2 separate regions of the Homo sapiens genome follow, and region 2 is linked to region 1. The links are contacts of gene promoters, found by promoter capture Hi-C in human tissues and cell types (Jung and others, 2019). All regions are on one chromosome and are shown on one strand. The core of a region is centred on a gene start or on the middle of the fragment in contact, and the rest is flanking DNA. Distances in the headings are between cores, read along the strand shown.

Region 1 (3,850 bases), core at 404-2,903:
TCTTCTGAAAAAGAACATACTTTTCTAAAGAAGTGAATGCAGTATTAATGCCAAATAATCATTTTGTCTCTCACAAAAATAATTCCAGCATACGTTTTTCCCAAAACATAAGCCCTATGTATCGGACTACATTCATGCTGTAACCACTGTCTAATTTCCTCTAACAACAATGAACACAAAAACTACAGGAGTACATTTTCATTTCGAAGTAGGGAAGGCAGAGTCATAAGATGGAACGTTAATATCCTTCACTGATAGGATGCAGTGTGATACTGCAAAAGGACCAGAAAAATTGACCTCGTAAAATCATTTCTGAAATCCTTTAAACCTTATTTTAGATTTCAAAGACTTTTAAATGCTTTAAAATCAAAAGCAGCGAAGCAAATGAAGAAATAAACAGTACAATGTAAAAATATAATATCACAGTTGGACGCTAGGAAAGCTGCATAAATCAAACAATTGACAGCCCTGCCAAATTAACTGCAACAGCTAAAGAAAAGTTTGCTGATTTAAGAACTGTATATATGTAGGCATCTGGGACAACCTCTAGGTGTTGCTGTAGAGACCCCCTTCCTAAAGACTGATTTCTTCCCCGGTGTTTTGGCCTCCCCCTCCCCCTGACTGCACTGCAGTGCGCAAAGCCATTATAGACAATCACTTCAAACATATTTGCTGTTGAAAATGCCTCGGAAACTAACATTCTTCAAGGTTCAAGGAGCCAAACAATATTATTTTACTTTTCAGTCCGAATTATACTATAGATGAAGGAGCTAGATAGAAGAAAAGATTAGCAGGGTTCTGTCAAAGCGACCAGGAGGCTGAAGAAACCTCCTGTACCTTCAGCTGCCCCTGAAGCCCTCCTTCCTCCCCAGCCCGCTCTCCATACAAAATAGGACTAAATGTTAAAAGGAATCCTGTGCACGGGGAAGAGGGAGGCGAGCTCGGGAGATGTGGGAGCACAGGGTGGGGCGGCTCCTGCGAGGAGCTCCTGGCTGCACAGGCTCCATCTGATATGTCAGCTCCCGCATCCGAGAGCTGATGAGAGATGGAGGGAGCTCAGAAGAAAACCCTGCGAGTGTCGGGGGAGGGGAGGCCTTAACATTCGGATCAGATTAACCAGTGCTCAACCGCAGTGCCCGCGCCGGCCCCTCCGCTGATCCGCAGCATCCGAAAGCCGCAGGGCGCGGGGGCCTGTGGGGCCGGGCCCGGGAGCTGCGAGACCAGGGGCCGGTGACCCCCCGCGGGGGACCGAGCGAGGATGGGGAAGTCAGCGGCTTTACCTGCGATGGACCAGGTCCAGCGGTAGAACTCTACCGTGTCGTTGAGTGCCGTGGACACTACGTTTAGGACACTACCCGGCTCCGAGTCCAGGAGCCCCATCGCGGCGATGAGCGGGCGCTGGCGGCAGGAGAAAGCGGAGACCCAGAGAGAGGGCTGACCCCGGAGGCGGTGGCGGCCGACGGGGCGAGCGGCGGCCGGGAACCCCTCTAACGGCGGCGGCCCGGCTGCGTCTTCTCCTGCTCCTCAAGGCGCCGCGGCGGCGGGGATGCGGCAGAAGGCAGGGCCAAGCGGAAGGCGTCGTCAAGGTTCCCGGGAGAAAGACGAGGAGGTGGAGGAGGCCCAGCCGCCAGCACAGTGCGCTGCACCAGTCTGCAGCCTCGCGCAGCCGCCCCTCCAATCTCCTCAGCCGGCGTCACGTGGCCGCGCGCGGGGGCGGGGGGCCGGCCGCCCCTCCTCCCTCCCTCCCTCCCTAGTATTGGGACTCGCTGGCGTAGGGATGCTGCGCTCAAGGGTGCGACGCCAACTGGGCTCGCGCAGGCGCGCGCCGTCGAGCGGGAGCGGGACACCTGGGCTCCTCCTTGGCCCCTCCCCGCACAAGTCGCCTCATTAGCCTTCCCCGCCCCTGTCCCGGGCATCGGCCCCTGCGGAGGAGTTCACCGCCTCCCCACGGGTGATTTCTTATCCGCCCCGGATACGTCCTGGGAAACAGGACACGGGAAGAATGGGTGTTCTGTGGGCAAAGATGAGGTAGGCGTGGTGCTTTGGTCCTTACCTGACACTCACCTCGATTTCACTTGTGTTCCTGTTTCTTTGACCTCCACCAGCACATGCCTGTCACCATGACAAGAGAAGTGCATGTGTTATGCCTCTGAAGAAGTGAAGGGTATTTGTCTTCCATGCTTCAGCGATGGAGAATAGACTTTGGGGTCGACCCATGAACAAATCAACATATAATTGCATGAATGCTTGCATGTGTTTTGTAGACTCTTTTACTATACATGGAATGAACAAAGCAATATAATTGTGCTAAATTAGGCCATTAGTAGTTCAGAGAAGAGGGAGAACCGAGAGGGGCTTACAGGTGAAGTCCGCTTGAACCTGAAGAAGTTGAGGTGAATCTGAAAAAGATAATCGCTCAAGAGGCAAAGGGCAATTTAGTGTAGAGAGGAAAACAAAGTAATTGTGGCTATTTTGAAAAATTGTTTAGATAAGGTATAGGAGAGCCTACCCTTGAAAAGTAAAAAAAATACAGTACTTGGAATTCATAATTTGATGGTTTCTCACATAAAACAAGATTTTTGAGAATAGTCCTTTCATCTACTTGTTTTTTAAATGTGTCACCTACTTGTTTAACCTTTTCTCCACTTGCTCATTTTGGATGCTACATTTTAAAGACCAGTGAGTCAAGTGTCTTATTGTTCCTGCCCTTTCACACTGTTAATGTGAATACTATCTTTTATCATACTGAAATGATCTATTTCCCAATTGACCTGGTTATATATTGTCTATATTTTATATTGGAAGCATCCTAGATGGTAAGAATTATTTTTGGTTGCTTGATGAGTACCTAACCCAGTGCTATAAACAGTAATTAATAAATATTTATGATGACAAAAATATAACATGTCTTTCAGAGAATAATAAGGATTATTGTGAGTGGCAGGAACTTTATTGCCGAACTAAAGCAAACACAGACTTCTTTAAATGCCCTATTCTTGAAATTAACCAAATAAAATGTTAATTTATTAATTTGTCAAATATATTTGCAAATCTAAAGTTTTCTGGATTGGAATGACAATTTCTCAAGTCTCAATCCTAAATTATGTGTAACAGATTCTAGTAGCTATATAAAAAAAAGAAATCCAGTCAAGTCTCTTCATTTAGGGAGTGGATAAATACCCATTCATTTACAGTGATGATCTAACAAAGTTCGGATTAGTTCGAGCTTCACCTAAAAATTTGATTACTATTTCTATATTGTGGAATCCTGGAGTTTTTAGGGAGAACAGATCTCTACCCATACTTCCATTCACACACGCAAAACTGCAGCATAATACTTAATACAAGGAGAAATTGTTAAAACAGCTTCAGGTATTTCCCTGGTATTTCTTCTACCGTGGAGGTCAACTTAAGTCCCTATTCACTAGGGGGTGCCAGTCACGTATAAGAAAATCATAGATGAGATAACCTTCAGCTGGGAATGGCGGTCACACGGATATCACCGTGTCCACACTCCACCTGTAAGAGTAGAATGTTTATTTACATTTATAAGCTGTCTAAACATATACCAAGAACCAGAACATAAAACTTACCCAATCTGGAACCCTATTACCTGGCATGAATAAGTGGTTTGTAAATACCAGTGACTGCCCAGAACCAAAGCCTACCTTGTTTAGTTGTGCAAAGGGAGGGAAACCCGCATGTCTGCCACCTAGAATAACAGCCATCTAACCAAAATCTTGGTAGCATCATAACAGAGTAAAAGCAAATACAAGCAACAACAGCATCTGCAAACTTTGAGAACAGAGTTCTTTCATGTGGATCAAATGCAAATAGGATACAGTTACCT
Region 2 (3,850 bases), core at 994-3,493, 130 kb after region 1:
TATGATTTCTATGATAAGCTCTTAAGTGTCAAAATTGAGCTTTAGCTGAACCTTTAAGTTTCACTCTCTTAATATGAAATAAATTTGAATCCTTTACAGAAAACCTAGAGATAAATACCAGTTTTTAAAAAGTCATGCTTGTTATTATGCATGTGTGCATCCCTTCATTATGCAAACATTTATTGACTCCAGAAGTAGAATAAATGCTGCGATACAAAAATAAGACAGACAATATCTGTGTCCAGAAAGATAATGGGAGCACAGCAGGAGCTGATGGTAGAGTTGGGTGTAGAGTCCAGACATGAAGGACTGTGTATATCATGCTAAGGAGATGGTTCTTTTCCTGTCACCAATGGGGAATTTTTAAAGCCTTTGAAGCAGGATAGACACAAGATCTTGTCTCTATTTGTACTTTAAAATGTTCTAATTCTTTGAGAAAAATGGAATAGTGGAGATATAAACCAGTAGATTATTGCTAAAGGCCAGGAGGGAGGTAGTGAGAGCTTAAACTATGGCAGTGGATAAGGGATGGAGAGGAAAGGATAGATTAAGTAAATAAGTAAAATAAACAGAATGGTCACTGTAAGTGAAGAAGATGGAAAAGGGAAATGCCTAGGGCAGTTACTGGTTTCTAGCTGGGCATTGTGGGAGTGACATTTATGGGAAAAGGGAACACAGAAGACCAAAATGAAATAAGAATTCATATGTAAAAGTAACTACCTCACATAAGTAGTTATGTGTGAAAGTAGAAATACTGTCACTTATCATCATTATTTAAAAGTCAAGGTCCTGAAAATAACACTTTAAACTACACTTAATTTGACTGTAAGAGAGTGTATAATGTTTCTTTAGTCAGGCTATGTGTTTTGCCTTTCTATTCTTGGACACAAATATATTGTTGAAGTCAGAAGTTGAGGCTGAAAAATGGCTTGAGTCTAACTCTTCTGAATTTCAGCGTGCTATGCTGCTGTCTATGCTGGTTACTATCAATATGGTGACCACTGGGTCTGGTAATGCACCAAACTACTGAAAGTGCAACTGGTTAGTTAGAAGTAATAGAATTCCTCACTGCCCCCCGCTCCACCCACCCACACACAAACTTAATGATTTAAAGCTTTGCCAGTCAACCATTTTGCAAATGTAGGTTATACAAAAAATCCAAGTTGAATAAGTGTATGAATGGCCAATACAAAAAAAGATAGTAATGGCTAAAATGTATTGAGCCCCTACTATATGCCAGGTGCTATTCTAAATATTCTCAATTAACCTTCACAAGTCATGGAGTTAGTGACTACTATACTCCTCATTTTGAAGATGGGGAAACTGAATCACAAGCTTACCCAAGGCCATCTGCAAGTAGGTTCAAGCTAGTATAATATAATACCAGATCCTGAACTCTTAACCGTTATACTAAAATGTAGTGAATAATGACCTCCTAATAAAGAGTAAAAAGGGGTTGAAGTCCCCAGCTGTTATTGTTTTGGGGTCTATCTCTCTCTTTAGATCTGATAATATTTGCTTTATGTATCTAGGTGCTCTGATGTTGGGTGCATATATATTTACAATTGTTATATTCTCTTGCTGAATTTATCCCTTTATCATCTTTTAAACTTCATTGTCTCTTTTTAGAGTTTTTGACTTAAAATTATTTTATCTGAAATAAGCATAGCTACTCCTGCTTGTTTTTGGTTTCTGTTTGCATAGACTATCCTTTTCCATCTCTTTCACATTCGGTTTATATGTGTCTTTGCAGATGAAGTGAATTTCTTGTAGGCAGCACACAGTTGAGTCATTTTATATCTTTAAGGTGGGGAATGTAATTAATTTACATTCAAGGTTGTTATTGATAGGTGAAGATTCATGTCACTATATTAATTGTTTTCCAGTTGTCTTGCATATCCTTTGTTCCTTTCTTCCTTGTTTATCATTGTGGTTTAGTGGTTTTCTGTAGTGATAGGGTTTCATTATTTTCTCTTTGTATATCTGCTCTACCACTGAGTTTTATACTTTTGCGTGGTTTCATGATAGCCATCTTTTCACTTTAAGATGTAGGACTCGCTTAAGGATTTTTGCAAGACTAGGATAGTGGTGATAAATTCCCTCAGTTTTTGCTTGTCTGGAAAAGGCTTTATTTCTCTCGTGTCTGAAAGGTAGCTTTGCTGAGTATAGTGTTCTTGACTGGCAGGTTTTTCTCCTTTCAGCACTTCAAATAATTCATCAAATAATTCATTTTCTTCTAGTCTGTAAGGGTACTGCAAAGAAATATGCGTTAGTCTAATGGGGATTCCTTTATGTGTGACTTAATGCTTTTATCTTGATGTTTTTAGAATTCTCTTTGTCTTTGACTTTTGATAGTTTGACTATAAAGTGCCACAGGGAGTAGATTTTTAGACTGAATCTTTTTGGAGACCTTTGAACTCCTAGATCTCCTAGATCTGGATATCCATATCTCTCCCCAGCTTGGAACAATTTTAGCTATTATTTTATTAAATAGGTTTTTCTACACCATTTTCCTTCTCTTTTCCATCTGGAACTCCCATAAATGAGAACATTTGTTCACTTAATGGGGGGTCCTATAAGTCTTGTAGCCTTTCTTTATTCTCTTTCATTCTTATTTCCTTTATTTTTTCTGGCTGGGTAATTTCAGATAACCTATCTTCAAGTTCAGAGATCTTTTTTTTTTTTTTTTTTTTTGAGACAGAATCTTGCTCTGTTGCCCAGGCTGGAGTGCAGTAGCACGATCTCGGCTCACTGCAACCTCTGCCTCCTGAGTTCAAGCGATTCTCCTGCCTCAGCCCCCCGAGCAGTTGGGACTACAGGCACATGCCACATGCCCACCTAATTTTTGTATTTTTAGTAGAGACAGGGTTTCACTATATTGGCCAGGATGGTCTTGAACTCCTGACCTCGTGATCCATCCACCTCAGCCTCCCAAAGTGCTGGGGTTACAGGCATAAGCCACTGCTCCAGGCCTAAGTTCAGAGATTCTTTTATTGGCTTGATCAAGGCTGCTGTTGAAGCTCTCTATTATTTCTTCAATTCATAGAAATCATTAGCTGCAGTATTTCTCTTGGCTTTTTCAATGATTTTTATCTCTTTGTTGAATTTATCATTTGTATCATAAATTTTTTTCTGATTTTGTTGAATTGCCTGTCTATATTTTCTTGTATCTCATTGAGTTTTCTTAAGATCACTATTTTGAATTTCTTTTCCAGCAGTTTGTTGATTTCACTTTCATTGGGTCTGTAACCAGATAGTTATTATATTTCTTTGGTGGTATCAGATTTTTCTTGCTTTTTAATGTTGTGTGTGTGTGCTCCTATGTTGATGTCTGTGCATCTGGTGGAAAAATCACCTCTTCCAAAACTTCTAGAGTGGATCTTGTAGAGAAAAACTTTCATCTGCAGTTGGGTTTTGGTGTGCCAGTTTGGAAGGATGTAGTGATTCTATTTTCAGACAGGTACAGTGCAGTCAAGAACACTATACCCAGCAAAGCTGCCCTTCAATAGCTTCTGCAGCTGTTCAAAGTCAACAATAACTGTGAGCACCTCAGTAGCATAAGCTGTAGAAGTTTGTGGGATGGCAGTGGCAGTGTAGGTTGTTAATAGCTCCTCAGTGTCAAGGGCTTTTGAAGTCCTCCTTGTTTTCTCTACAATGAAGAGACTTAGAGGAGGGAATCCTTCTTGATATCAAGTGTGACATGGCTTACTATTAATAGCAGCTGCAGTGGCATTGGATTCCAGGTGCAGGTGCTTGAGGCAGCTGTGGGGCCAGGATCCTAGGTTCAGAGTCTCACAAACCTATAGTGATACCTGGGTCTTGGGGTGCAGATTCATTCTCTGTAGCAGGG

What was found. Contacts are between HindIII fragments. The study calls those that stand out against the background at their distance.
Region 2: a contact is called between a fragment that was not itself captured here and the fragment with the promoter of ELOVL4 in region 1, in 4 of the 25 tissues and cell types used here (H1 embryonic stem cells, mesenchymal stem cells, small bowel and 1 more).

The regions. Positions count from the first base shown.
Region 1 is chr6:79,945,900-79,949,749 of GRCh38, forward strand. ELOVL4 (ELOVL fatty acid elongase 4) reads right to left here and starts at 1,654. Exons shown (of 6, transcript NM_022726.4): 1 at 1,281-1,654. The coding sequence starts at 1,380. LOC124901350 reads right to left here and starts at 3,734. Exons shown (of 2, transcript XM_047419628.1): 1 at 3,669-3,734; 2 at 1,488-2,112. The coding sequence starts at 1,916. The coding sequence ends at 1,488. It overlaps LOC124901351 (a long non-coding RNA gene), which reads left to right and starts at 1,906. Exons shown (of 3, transcript XR_007059656.1): 1 at 1,906-2,028. RefSeq lists a silencer at 1,714-1,763. The HindIII fragment of the contact is 11,635 bases long and covers 1-3,850 here.
Region 2 is chr6:80,071,061-80,074,910 of GRCh38, forward strand. No RefSeq gene overlaps it. Among named protein-coding and RNA genes, the nearest start is that of BCKDHB, 34 kb to the right of the region's middle. The HindIII fragment of the contact is 4,838 bases long and covers 1-3,850 here.